Regions from separate parts of the Homo sapiens genome. Here regions 1, 2 and 4 are each linked to region 3. The links are contacts of gene promoters, found by promoter capture Hi-C in blood cells and fetal thymus (Javierre and others, 2016). All regions are on one chromosome and are shown on one strand. Each heading gives the region's core, a stretch centred on a gene start or on the middle of the fragment in contact. The rest is flanking DNA. Distances are from core to core; before and after follow the strand shown.

The links. Contacts are between HindIII fragments. The CHiCAGO score rates a contact against its expected background, and 5 or more counts as called.
Region 1: the fragment with the promoter of LSM7 here is called in contact with the fragment with the promoter of BTBD2 in region 3 in 1 of 17 cell types (monocytes); the score reaches 5.1 in monocytes.
Region 2: a contact is called between a fragment that was not itself captured here and the fragment with the promoter of BTBD2 in region 3, in 1 of 17 cell types (fetal thymus). The highest score is 6.4, in fetal thymus.
Region 4: a contact is called between a fragment that was not itself captured here and the fragment with the promoter of BTBD2 in region 3, in 2 of 17 cell types (M0 macrophages and M1 macrophages). The highest score is 5.4, in M0 macrophages.

What each region holds. Positions count from the first base shown.
Region 1 is chr19:2,325,294-2,330,503 of GRCh38, forward strand. It overlaps LSM7 (LSM7 homolog, U6 small nuclear RNA and mRNA degradation associated), which reads right to left and starts at 3,293. Exons shown (of 4, transcript NM_016199.3): 1 at 3,268-3,293; 2 at 3,094-3,184. The coding sequence starts at 3,273. It overlaps SPPL2B (signal peptide peptidase like 2B), which reads left to right and starts at 3,391. Exons shown (of 15, transcript NM_152988.3): 1 at 3,391-3,482. The coding sequence starts at 3,417. RefSeq lists silencers at 2,298-2,397, 3,418-3,677 and enhancers at 2,668-2,727, 3,008-3,662, 3,098-3,147, 3,158-3,207. The HindIII fragment of the contact is 4,029 bases long and covers 597-4,625 here.
Region 2 is chr19:2,273,231-2,278,164 of GRCh38, forward strand. It overlaps OAZ1 (ornithine decarboxylase antizyme 1), which reads left to right. Exons shown (of 5, transcript NM_004152.3): 5 at 1-258. It overlaps PEAK3 (PEAK family member 3), which reads right to left. Exons shown (of 4, transcript NM_198532.3): 4 at 1,401-3,259. The coding sequence ends at 2,450. Among named protein-coding and RNA genes, the nearest start is that of OAZ1, 6.2 kb to the left of the region's middle. RefSeq lists a silencer at 247-496 and enhancers at 877-1,016, 1,821-2,755. The HindIII fragment of the contact is 5,733 bases long and covers 1-4,208 here.
Region 3 is chr19:2,014,203-2,019,056 of GRCh38, forward strand. It overlaps BTBD2 (BTB domain containing 2), which reads right to left and starts at 1,512. Exons shown (of 9, transcript NM_017797.4): 1 at 1,095-1,512. The coding sequence starts at 1,501. It overlaps LOC107985278 (a long non-coding RNA gene), which reads right to left. Exons shown (of 4, transcript XR_001753845.2): 3 at 2,981-3,098; 4 at 2,143-2,892. RefSeq lists silencers at 1,109-1,158, 1,169-1,318. The HindIII fragment of the contact is 21,370 bases long and covers 1-4,854 here.
Region 4 is chr19:2,310,380-2,315,148 of GRCh38, forward strand. No RefSeq gene overlaps it. Among named protein-coding and RNA genes, the nearest start is that of LINGO3, 4.6 kb to the left of the region's middle. The HindIII fragment of the contact is 6,944 bases long and covers 1-4,769 here.

The sequences.
Region 1 (5,210 bases), core at 2,043-4,542, 310 kb after region 3:
CCTCTCTGCCTGGGACTCCCCTCCACTGCCCTGCAGGCTCCTGCAGCCGAGGCCCAGCAGCAGCTCCACCTCTGCGCTCACTGAGGGGCGTCCCGCAGCCACCCCCTCCCTGCTCTCCTTCTTACCCCTGTCATCTTTCAGGTGCTTCCTCCAGACACCAACCCACAGCCCTTACGGTGCTGCCCTCTGCACGCCCACGCCAATCTCAGGAAGCAGGCACCACCAATCTCGGGAAGCAGGCACCACCAATCTCGGGAAGCAGGCACCCCGGGCATTATTCTGCCTGCCTGTCTCCTCCCAAGGCAGGGCCGAGAGCCCGTCCACGGCTGCTCCACACACACCGAGGGCCGCCCTGTGCGGTGGTGCGGGGGAGGGTCTGCAAACTACGACCCCCAGGTGAACCTGCCCGCCGCTCCTCTCTGTAAGTCAGAGTCTCGCTGGCCCACCACCACACTCGCCCGCTCAGGCGCTGACCAGGGTGGCTCTCCTGCTCTGCTGGCATAGCTCAGTGGTTGTGACAGAGACCATCTGGGCTGCAAAGCTAAAGATATTTGCCGTCTGGCCTTCTACAGAGAAGGTCTGCCCGCCTGCATACAAGCTTCCGTCCACCTCCACAGGCTTCAGCTTCCACCTCCACGGCTCCCTCTCTCTTTGCTCAAGTCCCTCCCCTGCAAAATGAAACTCACCTATAAGATGGGGTCAGATGCAGATGTTCAGGTCCTTGGCACCAGCCTGACCAGTGAGCCCGCCCTCCTCACGGGGAGAGATGTGAGCACTGAGGTAGGTAGGTCTCTAACATGGAGCCAAGGTGCCCCTCCTCTGGAGTGTGGGCTAGGGCCTGTGACTCTGACGGGACAAGATGTCACTCCTGCGCTTAGGTTATGTGGCAAAGACAAGGAACTTTGCAGCTGTAATTAGAGCCCCTGAATCAGCTGACTGAGCCAATCAAGAGAGAAACACCCTGGGTGGGCCTGACTGCATCAGGTGAGCCCTTCAGGGACCAAACCCTTTCTGCTTTTTGTGTGTGTGTGTGTGTGTGTGTGTGTGTGTGTGTGTGTGTGTGTTTGAGATGGAGTCTTGCTCTGTCGCCCAGGCTGGAATGCAGTGGCGCGATCTCAGCTCACTGCAACCTCTGCCTCCAGGGCGATTCTCCTGCCTCAGCCTCCCAAGTAGCTGGGACTACAGGCATGCGCCACCATGCCCAAATAATTTTTGTATTTTTAGTAGAGATGGGGCCTTGCCATGTAGGCCAGGCTGGTCTCAAACTCCTGAACTCAAGTGATCTGCCCGCCTCAGCCTCCCAAAGTGCTGGGATTACAGGCGTGAGCCACAGCGCCCAGTTAATTGTTGTACTTTTAGTAGAGATGGGGTTTCGCCATGTTGGCCAGGCTGGTCTCGAACTCCTGACCTCAGGTGATCCACCTGCCTTAGCCTCCCAGACTGCTGGGATTAAGGCGTGAGCCCCCGCACCCGGCCCCAAACCCTTTCTGAAAGATGATTCTCCCACTGGCCCGAATAACTGAATATGGACAAATGTCAGCTCAGCCTGCAGCACTGTAGGGGCAGACCACCACGGTGGAACAGAGTCCCGAGCTGGCAGCGTCCGGGAGCTGCAAGTGTCCCTAGCCAACACTGGCCAGAACGGGGACCCTGGCCCTGCAAAGGTAAGGCACTGAGCTCTGTCAATAACCAGTGGGCTCAGAAGAAGACCCCAAGATGATGGACCCCAAAAAACAACCCTCAGTTACAACCTCCTGAGAGCCCTTGAGGCTGTGGTACCCTGGCTCCTGACTCACAGATCCTGTGAGATAATAAAATGGTGCTGTTTCAGCTGCTAAATGGGTGATTTGCTATGAAGGGCAGAAAACAAAGGGAAGCAGTGTGACCAGCAAGAGCGGCCGCTCACTCATGTCCTTCCATGTCCGGAGTCAGCATGGTGTAGACTGAGAAAACATTTTATTCATATTCCTTTTTCTTTTTGTTTTGAGACGGAGTCTTGCCCTATCGCCAGGCTGGAGTGCGGTGGCACAATCTCGCCTCTGGGGTTCAAGCAATTCTCCTGCCTCAGCCCCCCGAGTAGCTGGGACTACAAGCGTGCGCCACCATGCCCAGCTAACTTTTTGTATTTTAGTAGAGACAGGGTTTCACCACGTAGGCCAGGATGGTCTTGATCTCCTGACCTCCTGATCTGCCTGCCTCGGCCTCCCAAAGTGTCAAGATTAAAGGCATGAGCCACTGTGCCTGGCCTCCTTTTTCTCTTTTGAGACTGGGCCTTGCTCTGTGGCCCAGGCTGGAGTGCAGTGGTGCGGTCATAGCTCACTGCAGCCTCAAACCCTAGGGTGAAGCCACCCTCCTGCTTCAGACTCCCAAATTGCTGGGATTACACACGTGAGCCGCCCCGTCCGGCTGGGGCACTGTGATTTTTAATAACTCTCATGCCACCCAGTTGTCTACAATCCAGGGACAAAGAGGTTTGGGTCCCCGTCTTACAAAAAAAAGAAACCAAAGATCCAAGAGGCTATTGAATAAGTGACGTGTTGTCTGACTGCTTACTTCCTGCTGAGAGCTGCCTCAATTACATTACATGCCTGTAACCATTCATTCTCACCACCCCCTGTGAAGTGGGTGGAGTTACCAGCCCCATTTGACAAATGAGGAAACGGAGGCTAGGAGAAGGCAGCTCACTTGCCCAGTCAAAAATGCTAGGCTGGGCATGGTGGCTCATGCCTGAAATCCCAGCAATTTAGGGGGCTGAGGCAGGCAGATCGCTTGAGGCCAGGAGTTTGAGACCATCCTGGCCAACATGGCCTCTCTACTAAAAATACAAATATTAGCCGGGCGTGGTGGTACACATTAATTCCAGCTACTCGGGAGGCTGAGGCACAAGAATCACTTGAACCTGGGAGGCGGAGGTTGCAGTGAGCTGAGATCGCACCACTGCACTCCAGCCCGGGTGACAGAGCGAGACTGCGTCTCAAAAAAAATAATGAAAATAAATAAAAGAGGTGCTTCCGCATGCGTCCTCATCATCTCTGTTGCTGGGTTTATTTGAAATTTTTAAAGAGGGGGTACCGACAGCGGGAGCCTCCTCACCTTCGCGGCCTCCCTGGAACTTTACCCGGATCGTCTTGTCGATGTACTTGGACAAGTCCAAGATGCTCTCCTTTTTCTTCTTCTCCTTATCCTGCGGGGAAAGCAGAGCGCATGAGACCTGGAGCGCGGCCCGAGCTCCACGCCCCCCGGCTCCAGATTCCGCCGCGCGCTCACCGCCATCTTGTCGCGCCGTGTGGCTCTTCGCAGGCACCGCCCCGCGCCCTTTGACCTCCCCCACGCGCATGCGCGGCGCATGCGTGGCCCGGGGTCTCGGGGCGTTGCTGGGAAACATCTGCCGTTGGTTGCGGCGGGCACCGGCCGACATGGCGGCAGCGGTGGCGGCTGCGCTGGCGCGGCTTTTGGCGGCCTTTCTGCTCCTCGCGGCCCAGGTGAGCGCGGCACCGGTCCCGACGGCACCGCGGGCTGCGGCCCTTCGGCCTCTCTGTCCCCGGGCTACGCGCAGGAACGACCCCGCTCGGCCCGTCTTGGGGGTCCAGCCTCGGGGATCCGCCGTCCCCGCGTTGTCGGCCGGCGGTGCCGGGGCTCGGCCGTGACCTTGCGGGTCTGTCCCCGGCTCCTCTCCTTTCCCCGCCTCGGAGGCCCTCCGCCGCTGCAGCGCCACTCACTTCCCACCGGGTCTGAAATTTGTGCCCCCTCCATCCTCCGGTTCTGCTTCTCCGTTTCGGGGTCTCCAGTTGCCGCCGGGGACGCCTCTCTCCGGCTCTGTGGCCTTGAGCAGGCGGCTGCCCACCCCTCTCCGAGCCTCAGTTTCCCCTTAGGCGGAACGGGCACGGTGCTAAGCTAACCTCACCCTAGGGGGTGCGGTGGGGGAACCCAGAGGCGTCCCGCGCGTCCCCCAGTAACTGGCAGCATCCTGGAGCGGCCAGGAGTCCAGCCCTGCACTGGGGTCGGATCCCCGCTCCATCTTTTACTCCGTGACCTTGGACGATGGAATTCGTGTGCAGAAGGAGGACCGACTATGGTGTGGATTCTGGAGGTTCTGTCCAGGGTGACCAGCGCCCAGGGCCAACAGGCCTTCATTATGTTCATTGTGTGTCATTTGATGTAAAGAGTGTCAGGTTCTAGTGGGGACAGTCTACGAGATCGCACTGTCATAACTGCATCTTTTATTTTCTTAATTCCAAATCTTCCCTCTCTCCTGAGTTCGGTGGCTCAGGCAATGGAACCTGGAGCAGCCCCACAAATGCAGCCCTTAACCTTCACTACCCCCTCAGAGTTCTCACTCTTAAGGCGTCGCCGCCACCTGGCTCCTCAGTCTCCACTCCTCCAGCCCCACCGCTATCCCTCTGCTGTGGCTGCCTTTGTCCACCACATCCCCAGTCCATCCTCGACACAGCAGGGGTGACCCTTTCAAAGTATGTCAGACCGTGTCGCATCCAGATGAGTGCGCCGTCCAGTTGTGACCTGGCTGCTGGGGAAGCCTGCAGCTCATTGCAGTCGCTTCACTCTCTAGTCTTTTCTCTTACCCTGAGATGCCCCTGGTCTCTGCAAGGCTGTCGGGCCCCCTCGGAAGCTTTCTGAGAACCCCAGTCCTACCCCCAGCTGCTCTGTCAGCCCCCTTTGGACTCCCCCCATTCTGCAGCCAGGCACCTAGAGCTCCCCAGACATTTGGAAGGAGGGGGAAAGCCAGAGGTGGAAGAAAGATCACAGAACTCTGTGGAGAGAGGGACTCAGTTTGCCTGGGAAGGCTTTTCCGAAGCAGATCTATTTTTTTTTTTTGAGACGGAGTCTCGCTCTGTCGCCCAGGCTGGAGTGCAGTGGCATGATCTAGGCTCACTGCAACCTCTGCCTCCCGGTTCAAGCAATTCTCCCACCTCAGCCTCCCGAATAGCTGGGATTACAGGTGCATGCCACCACTCCTGGCTAAATTTTTTTTTTTTTTTTTTTAGTAGAGACGAGGTTTCACCATGTTGGTCAGGCTGGTCTCGAACTTCAGACCTCAGGTGATCCACCTGCTTCGGCCACCCAAAGTGCTGGGATGACAGGCGTGAGCCACCGTGCCCGGCCCCGAGGCAGGTGTTCTGAATGATGAGTAGGAGTTTGCCGGGTCGGCAGGAGGGGAAGGGTGTTGGAAGCACCAGAAGCAGCATAAGCGG
Region 2 (4,934 bases), core at 92-2,591, 260 kb after region 3:
CTCACTCCGAATTAGCGGTGTATTTCTTGAAGTTTAATATTGTGTTTGTGATACTGAAGTATTTGCTTTAATTCTAAATAAAAATTTATATTTTACTTTTTTATTGCTGGTTTAAGATGATTCAGATTATCCTTGTACTTTGAGGAGAAGTTTCTTATTTGGAGTCTTTTGGAAACAGTCTTAGTCTTTTAACTTGGAAAGATGAGGTATTAATCCCCTCCATTGCTCTCCAAAAGCCAATAAAGTGATTACACCCGATGCACCTGGCTCTGTGGTGGTGACGCTGGGGACTGGTGGGAGGAGTGCCTGGGACCACAGAGGGCCCTGGGTGGAGGGGTCGCGGGGGATTTGGCACCCAGGCAGCTGCGGGACCCCTCCCACGGAGGAGACCCCCTGGGCTGGGAGGCCGGGCCCTCAGCTTGGCGCCAGCCTTGCCACTGCTCGCTTGAAGCCCCTTCCTGCCTCGCGTCCCCTTCCGCCCCAGCCTGGGCCTGCGCATGGGGATGTCTGTGCTCCCAACTCAACTTTTGAGTTCGCCGTGTTACTGGCCGCCCCTAGGGACCTGCAGCGCCGTTCGGGGCAGCAGCACTTCCGGCGGGGTCGTGGCCTGGAGCGCTTCCGGGTCTGCAACCCCGCCGTCTGCCCGGCCGCAGCGCCACCTGCCGGCCGCATCCGGGAGCGCCACCCGGAAAATCAGGGCCAGGCCTGGCCGGGAAACCGGCTGGAAAGAGGAGGAAAGGAGGAACTCGAAAAGATTGTAGACTTGGCGAGCGGGCCGGGGGGATATTCAGCCGTCTGAGCGGTGGTGGGGTCGGCCGGGAGGACAAACCTGGACACAGATACCCCCAGCTCATTTGGGCAGCGCAAATGCAGAGAAGGGGCATTAGAGCTGAGGCCATGCAGGATGAATAGGAGTATGAAGCAGAGTAGAGGGGGCTGTTTTCTGGTGTAAAAAACAACTTGGGCAAAGGCGTGGAGGCTGGAAAGTAACCTCCAGGGATGAACGACATGGGGTTGGAGACTCTGAGGAGACTTTGGAAGAGCCCTGTATGTATTCTGAGGCACTGGGGAGCCATGGGAGGTGTTTGAGCTGGAGAGGGACCTCATATCTGGGGTTGGAAAGATCCTCCCAGGACTGCCATGGGGAATGGAATGGAGGGGCAACTCTGAGTCTCCAGGAAGGAAGCCACAGGCAAGGGCAGTGCAGTGTGTCAGAGGCATAAAGGAAGACTCCATCCCCCTCCAGTGAGTCTCCTCTGTGCCTGTTTATTACATCATCCTGTGGTATTAAGTGAGCACCTACTGTGTGCCAAGCCTGGCCTTTGCCCCCAGGGAACTCACAGCCTTGTGGACAGTAACAGAGGAATAAATGCTCCTGAGAGTGGGCGGAGAACGCAGGGTAAGGAGCTAGCGATGGCCCAGAGTGGGCACCTTTATTTGTTTAGAGAAAGTGAAACTGTAGCCGGGCGCGGTGGCTCACGCCTGTAATCCCAGCACTTTGGGAGGCCGAGGCGGACGGATCACGAGGTCAGGAGATGGAGACCATCCTGGCTAACACGGAGAAACCCCGTCTCTACTAAAAATACAAAAAATTAGCCGGGCGTGGTGGCGGGCGCCTGTAGTCCCAGCTACTCGGGAGGCTGAGGCAGGAGAATGGCGTGAACCCGGGAGGCGGAGCTTGCAGTAAGCCGAGATCGTCTCAAAAAAAAAAAAAAAAAAAAAAGAAAAAGAAAGTGGAACTGGAACAGTATGGCAGAGGGAACAGCCTACACAAATGCTTGGGGGCGCGAAAGAAGTTGGTGTGTCACGGAGGAACAGGGAGGGAGGCAGGGTGGGCGCAGAGGGATTGAGGGGAGGTGGCAGGGAACCGCGGGGACTGTTTTAGGGAAGGTGAGTCCAGACCCCGCTGAGATGAGCTGGGTGTCTAAGGTCCCAGGGAGCCTTCCCTTCCCGTGACACCACCAAGCAATTCTCCACCAGGGACAGGGGCATTCACATGCCCAAAATCACTGGCCATCTTCAGCACAAGGGGGTGCTCCAGAGCCAGGAATGCCTCTGGTCCCGGCATTGGCCTCTCATGGAGACAATGACAGAACCCACGCGGAAGAGCGCCCTGGCTGCTGGGGAAGGCAGAACACAGAGAGACATTGATCAGCGGGGTTGTCCACACCTGGAAGTGGCGTGGGGGCCCTGGCTTCAGAGAGCTGCTGCCCAACACAGGAGGCGCTGGCCAGCCCCCAGCCCTGGAGGGGCAGCTGCATTCCTGGGAAGCCCTTGACCCACATCCCCAGCACGGGAGGGGAGGCTCTGGAGTGGGGCATTGCTCTCTCTGCTGCGCTCCTGGACTCTGCAGGAAGAGGGTGTCTTGGCTATCATGGAGACGCTGACCTCAGCCCCAGCCCTGCCTCCTGGGCAGGCCTGGACCAGGTGTGTTCGCCCTGGGTTGGGGTCAGTCCCACAGCAGCGCCAGGGCCTGGCCCATCGAGGACTCGGTGGCCTCGGCCAGGTATTCGCAACACAGCCAGTCCTCGAGGCTGGGAGCTTCCCCACCTGCGGCCCGCTCTGCTAGGCGCAGGACCAGCAGCCCGCGGCGCACCCGCAGCCAGGGCCCGAGCGCTCGGAGCCAGGGACCAAGCGGTGCTCCGCGGCCGCGCAGCTCAGGCCCGGGCCCCCAGAGCAGCGCCTGCAGCGCGCCCCGCGTCCGGGACGCCGAGGGCCGCAAGCGGGTCAGCTGTGCTGCCAGGAGCTCCAGGCCCGCGGCCAAAGGCGTGGTCGAGGGCGCAGCAAGGCTGAGCAGCGCTCGGAGGAGGCTGCCCAGCTGCGGCGCGTGGGGGCCCGGGGATCCCGGGGGTCCAGGGGGCTGCAGACAGACGCGGCCAAAGTCAGTGAGGAGCAGGCGTGGGGGCCCCGTCGTCGCACAGCCCCGAGGTGCCACCAGCAGCAAGTTCTCCGGCCGCAACTCGACTAGGGCCGCGCCCCACGCCTCCAGGAACTTCAGGGCCGCGCTCAGCTGCAGCAGCAGCAGGGCCACAGCCCACACGAACTCCTCCGGCGGCTGCGTGCAGGCCTCCGCCAGCCACTGCGCCACCGTGCGCTCTGGAACCTCGGCTGCCAGCGCCACTGCGCCTCTCCAGGGCGCCCCGGGCAGTGTGCCTTCAGGCACCAGGCCACACAGCCCCTGCAGATTGAAGTGTGGAGACAGGGAGGCCTGCAGCTCCAGGCCCCACGGGTGGGGCACGTCCGCCCCGGGCTTGGGCACCTGCAAGGCAGAGGGGGTGTCGGGGCCTGGATCACTGGGCCCCCCACAAGCACCGCCTGCCCCAGTGCTACCTGCCCCGAAGCCTCCCACGCACACCCCCAAACTGCCCCCACTACGGCTAGGGGCTGCCTGCATCCCTCCAGCAGCAGGAGGTCAGTGTTAATTTGGAAGTTAGTCACCAGTAAGGACTTTCAGGAAAGTTAAGCCAGGGAAGAAGATGTTCCTGGGCAATGAGTTCGAAAGCAGATTCCTGGGCCGGGCGCGGTGGCTCACGCCTTCCCAGCACTTTGGGAGGCAGGGGGATCGCTGAGGTCAGGAGTTCGAGACCAGCCTGGCCAACGCAGGGAACGCTCGTCTCTACTAAAAAATGCAAAACTAGCTGGGCGTGGTGGCGCGCCTGTCATCCCAGCTACTTCGGAGGCTGAGGTGAGAGAATCGCTTGAGCCCGGGAGGTGGAGGTTGCAGTGAGCCGAGAACGCGCCACTGCACTCCAGCCTGGGCAACAGAGTGAGACTCTGTCTCAAAAACAAAAAACAAAACAAAAAACACAAAAGCAGATCCCCGGCCAGAGAGGTGTGGGAGGGGTTTTGACAAGAGCTCCAAGGCCATACCCATGGCCCCATACTTTAGAAACATGGTTTCCTGGGTTAACTGCGTTGATTCACGTGTTAGTTGCAAAATAAACAAGTCTAATATGGTCTGGATCTGTGTCCCCACCAAATCTCATTCCCCAGTGTTGGAGGTGGGGTCTGGTGGGAGGCGACTTGGATCTTGGGGGTGGTTTATCATGAATGGCTCAGCACCATCTCCCTTGGCACTGTCGTTGGGATAACGAGTGAGTTCTCGTGAGATCTGGCTGTGTAAAGGTGAGTAGCACCTCCTCCCTCCCTTCCTCCTGCTCCCACCGTGTGAGATGCCTGCTCCCGCCTCGCCTTCCACTATGATTGGAAGCTTCCTGAGGCCTCCCCAGAAGCAGAAGCCACCAGAACCATGAGCCAATTAAGGCCCTTTTCTCTATAAATTACCCAGTCTCCAGTATTCCTTTTTCTTTTCTTTTCTTTTTTCTTCTCTTTTGTTTTTCTTTTTTGAGACAGAGTCTCACTCTGTCGCCCAGGCTGGAGTGCAATAGCCCAATTTTCGAATCTCAGCTCACTGCAACCTCCGCCTCCCAGGTTCAAGTGATTCTCCTGCCTTAGCCTCCAAGTAGCTGGGACTTCAGGTGCGCACCACCGCGCCCGGCTAATTTTTGTATTTTTAGTAGAGATGGGGGTTTCACTATGTTGGCCAGGCTGGTCTCGAACTCCTGACCTCATGATCTGCCCGCCTTGGCCTTCCAAAGTGCTGAGATTACAGGCGTCAGCCACTGTGCTGCCCAGCCTTTTTTTTTTTTTTTAGACGGAGTCTCGCTCTGTCGCCCAGGCTGGAGCGCAGTGGTGCGTTCTCGGCTCACCGCAAGCTCTGCCCCCTGGGTTCATGCCATTCTCCTGCTTCAGCCTCCCAAATAGCTGGGACTACAGGTGCCCACCACCACGCCCGGCTAATTTTTTGTCTTTTTAGTAGAAACAGGGTTTCACCGTGTTAGCCAGGATGGTCTGTATCTCCTGACCTCGTGATCTGCCCGCCTCGGCCTCCCAAAGTGCTGGGATTACAGGTGTGAGCCACTGTGCCCGGCCTT
Region 3 (4,854 bases), core at 262-2,761:
CAGTAGGGGTCCCAGGGGGAGAGGGGCGGCAGGCAAGGGTGCAGGGCCTGGGGATGGAGGGGTCCTGAGGATCCCCGGGTATAGGGATGGAGGGGTGTGGCATGTGGGGTCATGGGTCCTAGAAACAGTGGGTTGGGGTCCTGGGAATGGAGGAGCAGATAGGGGTACACGTCCCAGGGTTGGAGGGTCACAGGAGTCCCAGGGGTGGTGGGTGGGGGTGCAGGGCCAGGGCATGGAGGGGACCCAGGGATGCAGGCCAGGTGGGGTCCAGGGATGGAGGGGCCTGGGGTGTAGGCAGGGGTTCCAGCCGGAGGTGGAGGGGCCCAGGGATCTGGGGGCAGAGGTGTCTGGGGACCTGGGGTGCAGGGAGGGGTGAGGTCCAGGGATGGAGCGTCCTGGGGATGGAAGAATGGAGGGTCCTAGGGTGCAGGCGGGGGGTGGAGGGCCCTGAGGATGGGGTATTCAGGGTTCTGGGGTGCGGGCTGGGTGGGGTTTGAGGATGGAGGGGCCCAGGGGCTCCAAGTGCAGGCCGAGTTGGAGGGTCCCAGGAACGGAGGGTACCGGAGTGCAGGCTGGGTGGGTCCAGGGACGGAGGAGAGCAGGGGTCCCAGGGGTACAGGGCCTGGGATCCCGGGGAACAGGCTGGGGGCGCAAGCCAGAGGTGGAGGATCCAGGGGGGCCTGGGGATGGAGGGGTGCAGAGGCCCAGAGTGCAGGCCTGGTGGGGTCTGGGGACAGAGAGGTGCAGAGGCAGGGACAGAGGGGTGCAGAGCCCAGGGAACTGGGTGGAGTCTAGGGATGGAAGGGTGCAGGCCCCGGGGTGCAGGCCGGGTCGGTTTCAGGACCGGAGGGGTGCAGGGGTCCCAGGGACAGAGGGGTGCAGGGCCTCAGGTGCAGGCCCCGGGGTGCAGGCCGAGTTGGGTTCGGAGCCTGAGGATGCAGGGGTGCAGGGGTCCCGGGGACAGAGGGGTGCAGGGCTCGGGGATGGAGGGGTGCGGGGGTCTCGGGGACAGAGGGGTGCAGGGCCTCAGGTGCAGGGCCCGGGCAGCAGGCTGGGTGGGTCGGGGCCAGGGCTGGCGGGGTCGGGGCGCCCACCTGTGCGCGGGGATGCGCTGCGAGCTGAGCCCCTTGCCCACCAGGAAGTGCACGTCGCACAGCACCTCGTTGTTGAAGAGGAAGGCGAAGCGCTCCTGCACGGTGGGCTTGCTGGCCTGCCAGTTGTACGCGGCCTCGCGCTGCAGCGCCGCCGCCCCCGGGCCCGCCGCCTCCTCCGCCCGCTCCGCGCCCGCGGCCTGCGCGTCTGTCCCGGGGCCCGGCGGGGCGGGCGGCGTCGGCCCAGGGGCGGCGGCGGCGGCGGCGGCGGCGGCGGCGGCGGCGGCCGCGTTGCCGGGGGCCGGGGTGGCGGCGGCGTTGGCGCTGGGCCCGGGACTGCCCCCCGTGCCCGGGCCGACCCCGACCCCCGGCGGGCACGACGCACGCCCGCCGCTCCCACCCGCCGCCATTTTGTGGCTGCGGCGTGGGCGGGGGAGGGGAGGAGGGAAGGAGGGAGGGGAGGAGGGAAGGAGGGAGGGGAAAGGAGGAGAGTAGGGGGAGGAGGGGGAGGAGGGAGGGGAGGGGAAAAGAGGAGGGAGGGGAAAGGAGGGGAGGAGGGAGGGGAGGGGAAGCGGGAAGGAGGGAGGGGAGGAGAGGGAGGGGAAAGGAGGGGGAAGGAGGGAGGGGAGGAGAGGGAGGGGAAAGGAGGGGGAAGGAGGGAGGGGAGGAGAGGGAGGGGAAAGGAGGGGGAAGGAGGGAGGGGAGGAGAGGGAGGGGAAAGGAGGGGGAAGGAGGGAGGGGAGGAGAGGGAGGGGAAAGGAGGGGAGGTGGGAGGGGAGGAGGGAGGGGAGAAGGGAGGTGAATGGGGGAGGCTGTTGCAGGGGAGGGGACGGGGAGGAGAGGGAAGAGTAGGAGGGGCCTGTAGAGGGGAGGAGCTGGTGGAAGACCTCTTGCTCCACTCCCTAAGCATCCTGACCTGAAGCCCAGACTCCAGACCGAGGTCCAGAATTTGGGGTCCAGGCACCAGGCCCCAGACTCCAGACCGGGAATCCTAAACCCTGGAGCACAGACCTCAGTCCGGGATCCCAGGCCTCAGACCTTGAATCCTAGATCCCAGACTCTGAACCCCAGACTTCAGACTCCGGATTCCAGATCCCATACCTCAGACCCGGAACCCCCAACCCAAAGACCAAGCGCAAACTCCAGACCCCAGACCCCGGACCCAGGTGGCGGGCCTGCTCCGTGGCGCAGGCTCCGCTGTACAGAGACATAGCCTGAGGCCGGGAAGCTGCGGATGAGCGAGCAGGATGCAGGCCACGTGCACTGACACTCAGCAGACGCCCAGCACCCTCTCCAGGCCAGGTGTGGGGGGTGGTCAGTGTGGACGGAGCTGGGACTCCCCCAAAACGCTTACTACATACATAATGTCAAGGTAGACAAATGCCACAAAGATTGAGGAACCAGGTCGGGCGCAGTGGCTCACGCCTGTAATCCCAGCACTTCAGGAGGCCAAGGCGGGGGGTGCATCACCTAAGGTCAAGAGTTGGAGACCAGCCTGGGCAACATGGCAAAACCCTGTCTCTACAAAAAATACAAAAATTAGCCAGGCGCGGTGGCTCACGTCTGTAATCCCAGCACTTTGGGAGGCCGAGGCGGGCGGATCACCAGGTCGGGAGATCGAGACCATCCTGGTGAAACCCCATCATGGTGAAACCCCATCTCTACTAAAAATACGAAAATTAGCCAGGCTTGGTGGCGGGTGCCTGTAATCCCAGCTACTCGGGAGGCTGAGGCAGGAGAATCACTTGAACCTGGGAGGCGGAGGTTGCAGTGAGCCGAGACCGCGCCATTGCACTCCAGCCTGAACAACAAGAACAAAACTCCGTCTCAAACAAACAAACAAACAAACAAAACAAAACAAAAAAAAAACTAGGCGTGGTGGTACGCACCTGTTGTCCCAGCTACTCAGAAGGCTGAGACGGAAGCATCACTTGAGCCTGGAAGGTTGAGCTTTTGATGAGCTATGACTCCACCACTGCCCTCCAGCCTGGGCAACAGAGCAAGATCCTGTCTCGAAAAAAAAAAAAAACAAAGAAGAAAAAGAAAATAGGGTATTAAAAAAACCCAAGTGATAATGCTATTTTCAGTTCTCCAGAGTGGGTGGTTGAGGTAGTTACAATTTTTTTTTCTTTTTTCTTTTTTCTTTTTAGAGTCTCCCTCTATTGCCCAGGCTGGGGTGCAGTGATGGCGATCTTGGCTCACTGCAATCTCAGCCTCCTGGTTCAAGCAATTCTCCCGCCTCAGCCTCCTGAGTAGCTGGGGTTACAGGTACCCGCCACCACGCCTGGCTAAGGCTAATTTTTTTTTGTTTGTTTGTTTTGTTTTTGAGACAGTCTCGTTCTGTCGCCCAGGCTGGAGTGCAGTGGCGCGATCTTGGCTCACTGTAAGCTCCGCCTCCCAGATTCACGCCATTCTCCTGCCTCAGCCTCCCGAGTAGCTGGAACTACAGGCGCCTGCCACCATGCCTGGCTAATTTTATATGTGTGTGTGTGTATGTATATACATATATATATATATATATATATTTTTTTTTTTTTTTTTTTTTTTTTTTGAGACAGTCTTGCTCTGTCGCCCAGGCTGGAGTGCAGTGGCACGATCTCAGCTCACCACAACCTCCGCCTCCCGGATTCAAGCGATTCTCCTGCCTCAGCCTCCTGAGTAGCTGGGATTACATGCACCACCACGCCCGGCTAATTTTGTATTTTTAGTAGAGACGGGGTTTCTCCATGTTGGTCAGGCTGGTCTCGAACTCCCGACCTCAGGTGATCCGCCTGCCTTGGCCTCCCCAAGTGCTGGGATTACAGGCGGGAGCCATCACAGCCGGCCTCTAAATGTCAACTTTCTTATCTCTCATCTCATACATTTGCAAAGTGACATCTTTCCAGCCAAATCCTAAAGAGGACATCTGTGCAGTCCCTTCTAGATGAAGGTGCAGAACAGGCATACCTGCCATGGTGACAGAAATTAACAAAATGGTAGGTTGTCTGAGGAAAGGGTGAACTTTACGGAATGCTGAGATGTTCACGATTTTTTTTTTTTTTTTTTTTTTTTTTTTTTTTGAGATGGAGTCTCGTTCTGCCACCCAGGCCAGAGTGCAGTGGTGCAATCTCGGCTCACTGTAAGCTCTGCCTTCCAGGTTCATGCCATTCTCCTGCCTCAGCCCCCCGAGTAGCTGGGACTACAGGCGCCTGCCACCATGCCCGGCTAATTTTTTTTTTTTTTTTGTATTTTTAGTAGAGTCGGGGTTTCATCGTGTTAGCCAGGATGGTCTCTATCTCCTGACCTCGTGATCCGCCCACCTCGGCCTCCTAAAGTGCTGGGATTACAGATGTGAGCCACCGCGCCTGGACTTTTTTTTTTTTAAAGAGCTGTAGGCCAGCCATGGTAGCTCACGCCTGTAATCCCAGCACTTTCGGAGGCCGAGGCAGGCAGATTACTTGAGTTCAGGAGTTCGAGACCAGCCTGGCCAACATAGTGAAACCCTGTCTCCACAAAAAAATACAAAATTAACAAGGTGTTCTGGTGTGTGCCGGTAGTCCCAGCTTTTGGGAGGCTGAAGTGGGAGGATGGCTACAGCTGGGGAGGCTGAGATTGTGCCACTGCACTCCAGCCTGGGCGACAAAGTGAGGCCCTGCCTAACACACACGCACGCGTGCGCGCACACACAGGCACACACACACACGGGATCTCACTTTGTCGCCCAGGCTGCTCATGAACTCCTAGGCTCAAGCAATCTTCTCGCTAGGCCTCCCAAAACGCTGGG
Region 4 (4,769 bases), core at 469-2,968, 300 kb after region 3:
TGAGTCCTGGAGGGTGAGGGATGCCAGCTGGGGTCCAGTCGAGGCCCTGCCTGTGTAACCGTGGGGGATGTCCCTCTAGCCTCGGTCTCCACCTCTGCAAAATGGAGATCGGAACAGTTCCCATCTTCTCCCGGGGCTGCAGAGACTCTGCAGTGGTTCTGCCCGGTTTGTGGCCAGTGCTCCCGAGCCCTTGGGGGTGGAGATTGGGCCAGGCTCCTACTGCAGGGCCTGAGCACGGGCTGCTCCCTCTGCCTAGAACGCCCTTCCCCCAGACCTCTGCCCGCCCCTTTCCCCCTCTTCACTCGCGTCTCCACCCCGACCTTCCATCTCTCCCTGCGTGGCACATGCCTGCTAAGATGTCCAGTAATTTGCTGATGGGTCCAGTGCAAGCTCTACCCTCTCTTCTTTTTTTTTTTTTTTTTTGAGATGGAGTCTCACCCTGTCGGTTGCCCAGGCTGGAGTGCAGTGGCGCGATCTCGGCTCACTGCAAGCCCCACCGCCCGGGTTCACGCCATTCTCCTGACTCAGCCTCCCGAGTAGCTGGGACCACAGGCACCCGCCACCAGGCCCGGCTAATTTTTTTTTGTATTTTTAGTAGAGACAGGGTTTCACCATGTTAGCCAGGATGGTGTCAATCTCCTGACCTCATGATCGGCCCGCCTCAGCCTCCCAAAGTGCTGGGATTACAGGCGTGAGCCACCGAGCCCGGCCCCAGCCTTTTTTAAGACAGGGTTTCGCTCTGTCACCCAGGCTGGAGTGCAGTGGCGCAGTCATAGCTCACTGCAGCCTTGAACCCCCTGGGCTCAAGTGATCCTCCTACCCCAGCCTCCCGAGAAGCTGGGACTGCAAGTGAGTGGCAACACACCTGGCTAATTTTTTTATTTTTTGTAGAGATGGGGTCTCACTAAGTTGCCCAGGCTGGTCTTGAACTCCTGGCCTAATGTGATCTTCTCTTCTTGGCCTCCCCAAGTGCTAGTATTACGGGTGTGAGCCACTGTGCCCAGCCCAGTCTTGTAATATTATGTGTCCATTTACTCCTCCCCAAAATGATGAGGGATTAGTTTTTATTATTATTTTTTAAGAGACAGGGTCTCATTCTGTCACCCAGGCTGGAGTGCAGTGGTGTGATCATGGCTCACTGCAGCCTGGAACTCCTGGGCTGAAGTGGTCCTCCTGCCTCAGCCTCCCAAGTAGCTGGGACTACAGGCATGTGCCACCACACCTGGCTTTTTTAAATTAGCTTTTTTTATATCTTGTGAGACAGAGTTTCACTCTGTTTGCCCAGGCTGGAGTGCAGCGGTGCAAATCTTGGCTCACTGCAACCTCCACCTCCTGGGTTCAAGCAATTCTCCTGCCTCAGCCTCCCGAGTAGCTGAGACTACAGGCGCATGCCACCAGGCTCATTAAATTTTTGTATTTTTAGTAGAGATGGGGTTTCTCCATGTTGGCCAGGCTGGACTAGAACTCCTGACCTCAAGTGATCCGCTCACCTCGGCCCCCCAATGTGCTGGGATTACAGGCATGAGCCACTGAGCCTGGGTCAGATTAACTTTTTTTTTTTTTTTTTTTTTTTGAGACGGAGTCTCACTCTATCGCCCAGGCTGGAGTGCAGTGGCGCGATCTCAGCTCACTGCAAGCTCCGCCTCCCGGGTTCACGCCATTCTCCTGCCTCAGCCTTCCAAGTAGCTGGGACCACAGGCGCCTGCCACCACGCCCAGCTAATTTTTTTGTATTTTTAGTAGAGACGGGGTTTCGCCATGTTAGCCAGGATGGTCTCAATCTCCTGACCTCGTGATCTGCCCGCCTTGGCTTCCCAAAGTGCTGGGATCACCGGCGTGAGCCACGGTGCCCGGCCCCCAGATTAACTTTTAATTAACAGGGTCTTGCTATTTTGCCCAGGCTGGAGTGCAGTGGTGCAATCATAGCTCACTGCAGTCCTGAACTGGCCTCAAGTGATCCTCCCATCTCAGCCTCCCAAAGTGCTGGGATTACATGTGTGAGCCACTGTGCCTGGCCTGGATTCATTATTATTCCCACTTTACAGATGAGAATTTGGGGACTCAGAGAGGTTAGGTCACTAGCCTCAGGTCACACAGCATCTGCCTGCTGAAGCTGGGGCTTGACCTCAGGCATCTGGAGCCCAAGGCTTCCAGGACTCTACACGTTTGCCTCTTAGCAGCCAAGGACTCTTTCCCCAGTTACAGAGGGTGGCCACTTGTCTGGGGCCACACGGGAGGCTCCCAGGCCACCTGCCCCCGCAGCCTCCCTCCCTGGGACATGACTGCCACTCCCGCCCGCATCTGGTCCCGTCCCTCACGCTGGAGAGAGCGAGCGAGAGGAGGAGGGCTTTTAATTTTAGAAATGGTTCCTGCTGCAGAAGAGTTCCTGCTGGTTTTCCCAGGCAGGAGAGCACAGGACAGGAGACCCCTCGGCCCCACCACGGCCGTCCCCAGAAGGATGCCCCCCTCTGCGGGCTGCTGCCTCCCTGCCCCCCAGCCTCTCCCACGGCTTCCCCATCTGGAGCCGCCCTCTCCGCCCAGGTGGTAAGTCTCCATGGCAACGTCCCATCACAGGTGGTCGTAACCTTAGCAACCAGGTGCTCCCACCCCACCGCCTGGGAGGCTCAAAGCCGCGCCTGCATCCCCCTCCCACGCTCTCCCTGCCCCCGCCCCCCGGGCAGCTCTCCAAGAGGAACCGAGGGAGATGCATCCTGCCAGGGATGCTGGGCCCAGAGACTTGAGGGACACCCCAAGATCACCCAGCAGCTGAGCTGCTGGGCCTGGGGTGCTCCACGGGACATCAAACCCACCTCCCTCGTCCTGCAGGATGCAAAAGAAACTGCACTTCTCGACATCGCCTGGGCTCCTACTAGGTGCTGCGTCCATGCCAGGCTCAGGCGCCGTCCCTGCCCTCAGGAGGCTTCCACTCAGGACAAGGGGTGGGGAGACACTGACCGAGGACAGGAAGGGGACAATGGCCGGGCGTAGTGGCTCGTGCCTGGAATCCCAGCACTTTGGGAGGGAGAGGCAGGAGGATCGCTTGAGCTCAGGAGTCTGGGCAACATAGCGAGACCCTCATCTCTTTAAAAAAAAAATTATCTGGACATGGTGTTGCATGCCTGTAGCCCCAGCTACTCAGGAGGCTGAGGTGGGAGGATCGCTTGAGGCTAGGAGGAGGAGATTGCAGTGAGCCAGGATCTCACCACTGCATTCCATTCTGGGCGACTGAGCAAGACCCTGTCTCAAAAAATATATATGCATATTGGCCAAGTGCGCTGGCTCACACCAGTAATCCCAGCACTTTGGGAGGCCAAGGCAGGTGGATCGGTTGACGTCAAGAGTTTGAGACCAGCTTGGCCAACACGATGAAAATACAAAAATTAGCTGTCCCCACAAATAAGTGACCCCCAGAGTAAGTTCTAGGTTTAGAATGAAATTTATCCATCTACTATTAAAAAAAAATTCTCTCAGCCAGGCGCAGTGGCCGAGAAAAAAAAAAAACACAACTCTCCTCTGATTTACATGGAAATTAATCACCCACATCAGATTCTGAAGGAAACTCTTGCTTATATTACTTTTTTTTTTTTTTGAGGCAGAGTCTCACTCTGTCGCCCAGGCTGGAGTGCAGTGGCGCGATCTCGGCTCATTGCAACCCCCGCCTCCTGGGTTCAAGCAATTCTCCTGCCTCAGCCTCCTGAGTAGCTAGGATTACAGGTGTGCACCAACACGCCCAGCTAATTTTTGTATTTTTAGTAGAGACGGGGTTTCACCATGTTGGCCAGGATGGTATCGAACTCCTGACGTCGTGATCTACCCTCCTCAGCCTTCCAAAGTGCTGAGATTACAGGCGTGAGCCACAGCGCCTGGCTTAACCTTTTATTATGGAAAATTTTATACACAAACAAAGGCTTAGAGAATCACGTAATGAACCCCCATAAAGCCATCCCCAAAGTGTGATGCATCTGGTTCCATAAGTCCCTCTCCACCCTCCCCAACAGACTATATCAAAGCAAATCCCAGACACGAAGTAATTTCATCCATAAATATTTGCATTTCTAAAATACAATGACTTAAAAAACACAGCCAACAATTCCATTATCATTTTTTAAGAAAATGGACAGTAATTCCTTAATATGCTCAAATATCCAGGCAGTGTCCAGTTTCCCTGACTGCCTTCTAAAATTTTTTCACACTTTGTTCAGCTCAGAATCCAAATAAGGTCCATTTACTGCAATTGGTTGATATGCCTGTCTCTTTCTCTCTCTCTCTCTCTCTCTCTCTTTTTTTTTTCCAGAGACAGGGTCTCGCTTTGTCACCCAGGCTGGAATGCAGTGGTGCAGTCATAGCTCACTGTAGCCTTCAACTCCCAGGCTCAGGTGACCCCCACCCCCGTCTCAGCCTCCTGAGTAGCCAGGACCACAGGTGCATGCCAGCATGCCCATTAATTTTTTCTTTTTTTGGTAGAAACAGGGTCTTGCCATGTTGCCCCGGCTGGTTTTGAACTCCTGGGTTTAAGTGATCCTCCTGCCTCAGCTTCCCAAAGTGCTGGGATTACAGGCATGAGCTGCTGAACCACTGTGCCTGGCCTTAGTTCTTCCTTTCTGCTGTTTGTCTTATATGTCATTTTCCTGTCTTATTGCACCGTGTGGCACCTCCAGTACAATGTTGAAAAGAACCAGTGGAACTGGACATCTTTCTTTTGTTTCTGGCCTTAGGGGGAGAGCACCCAGTCCTTCGCCATTGAGGATGACAGCTGTAGGGTTTTTATAG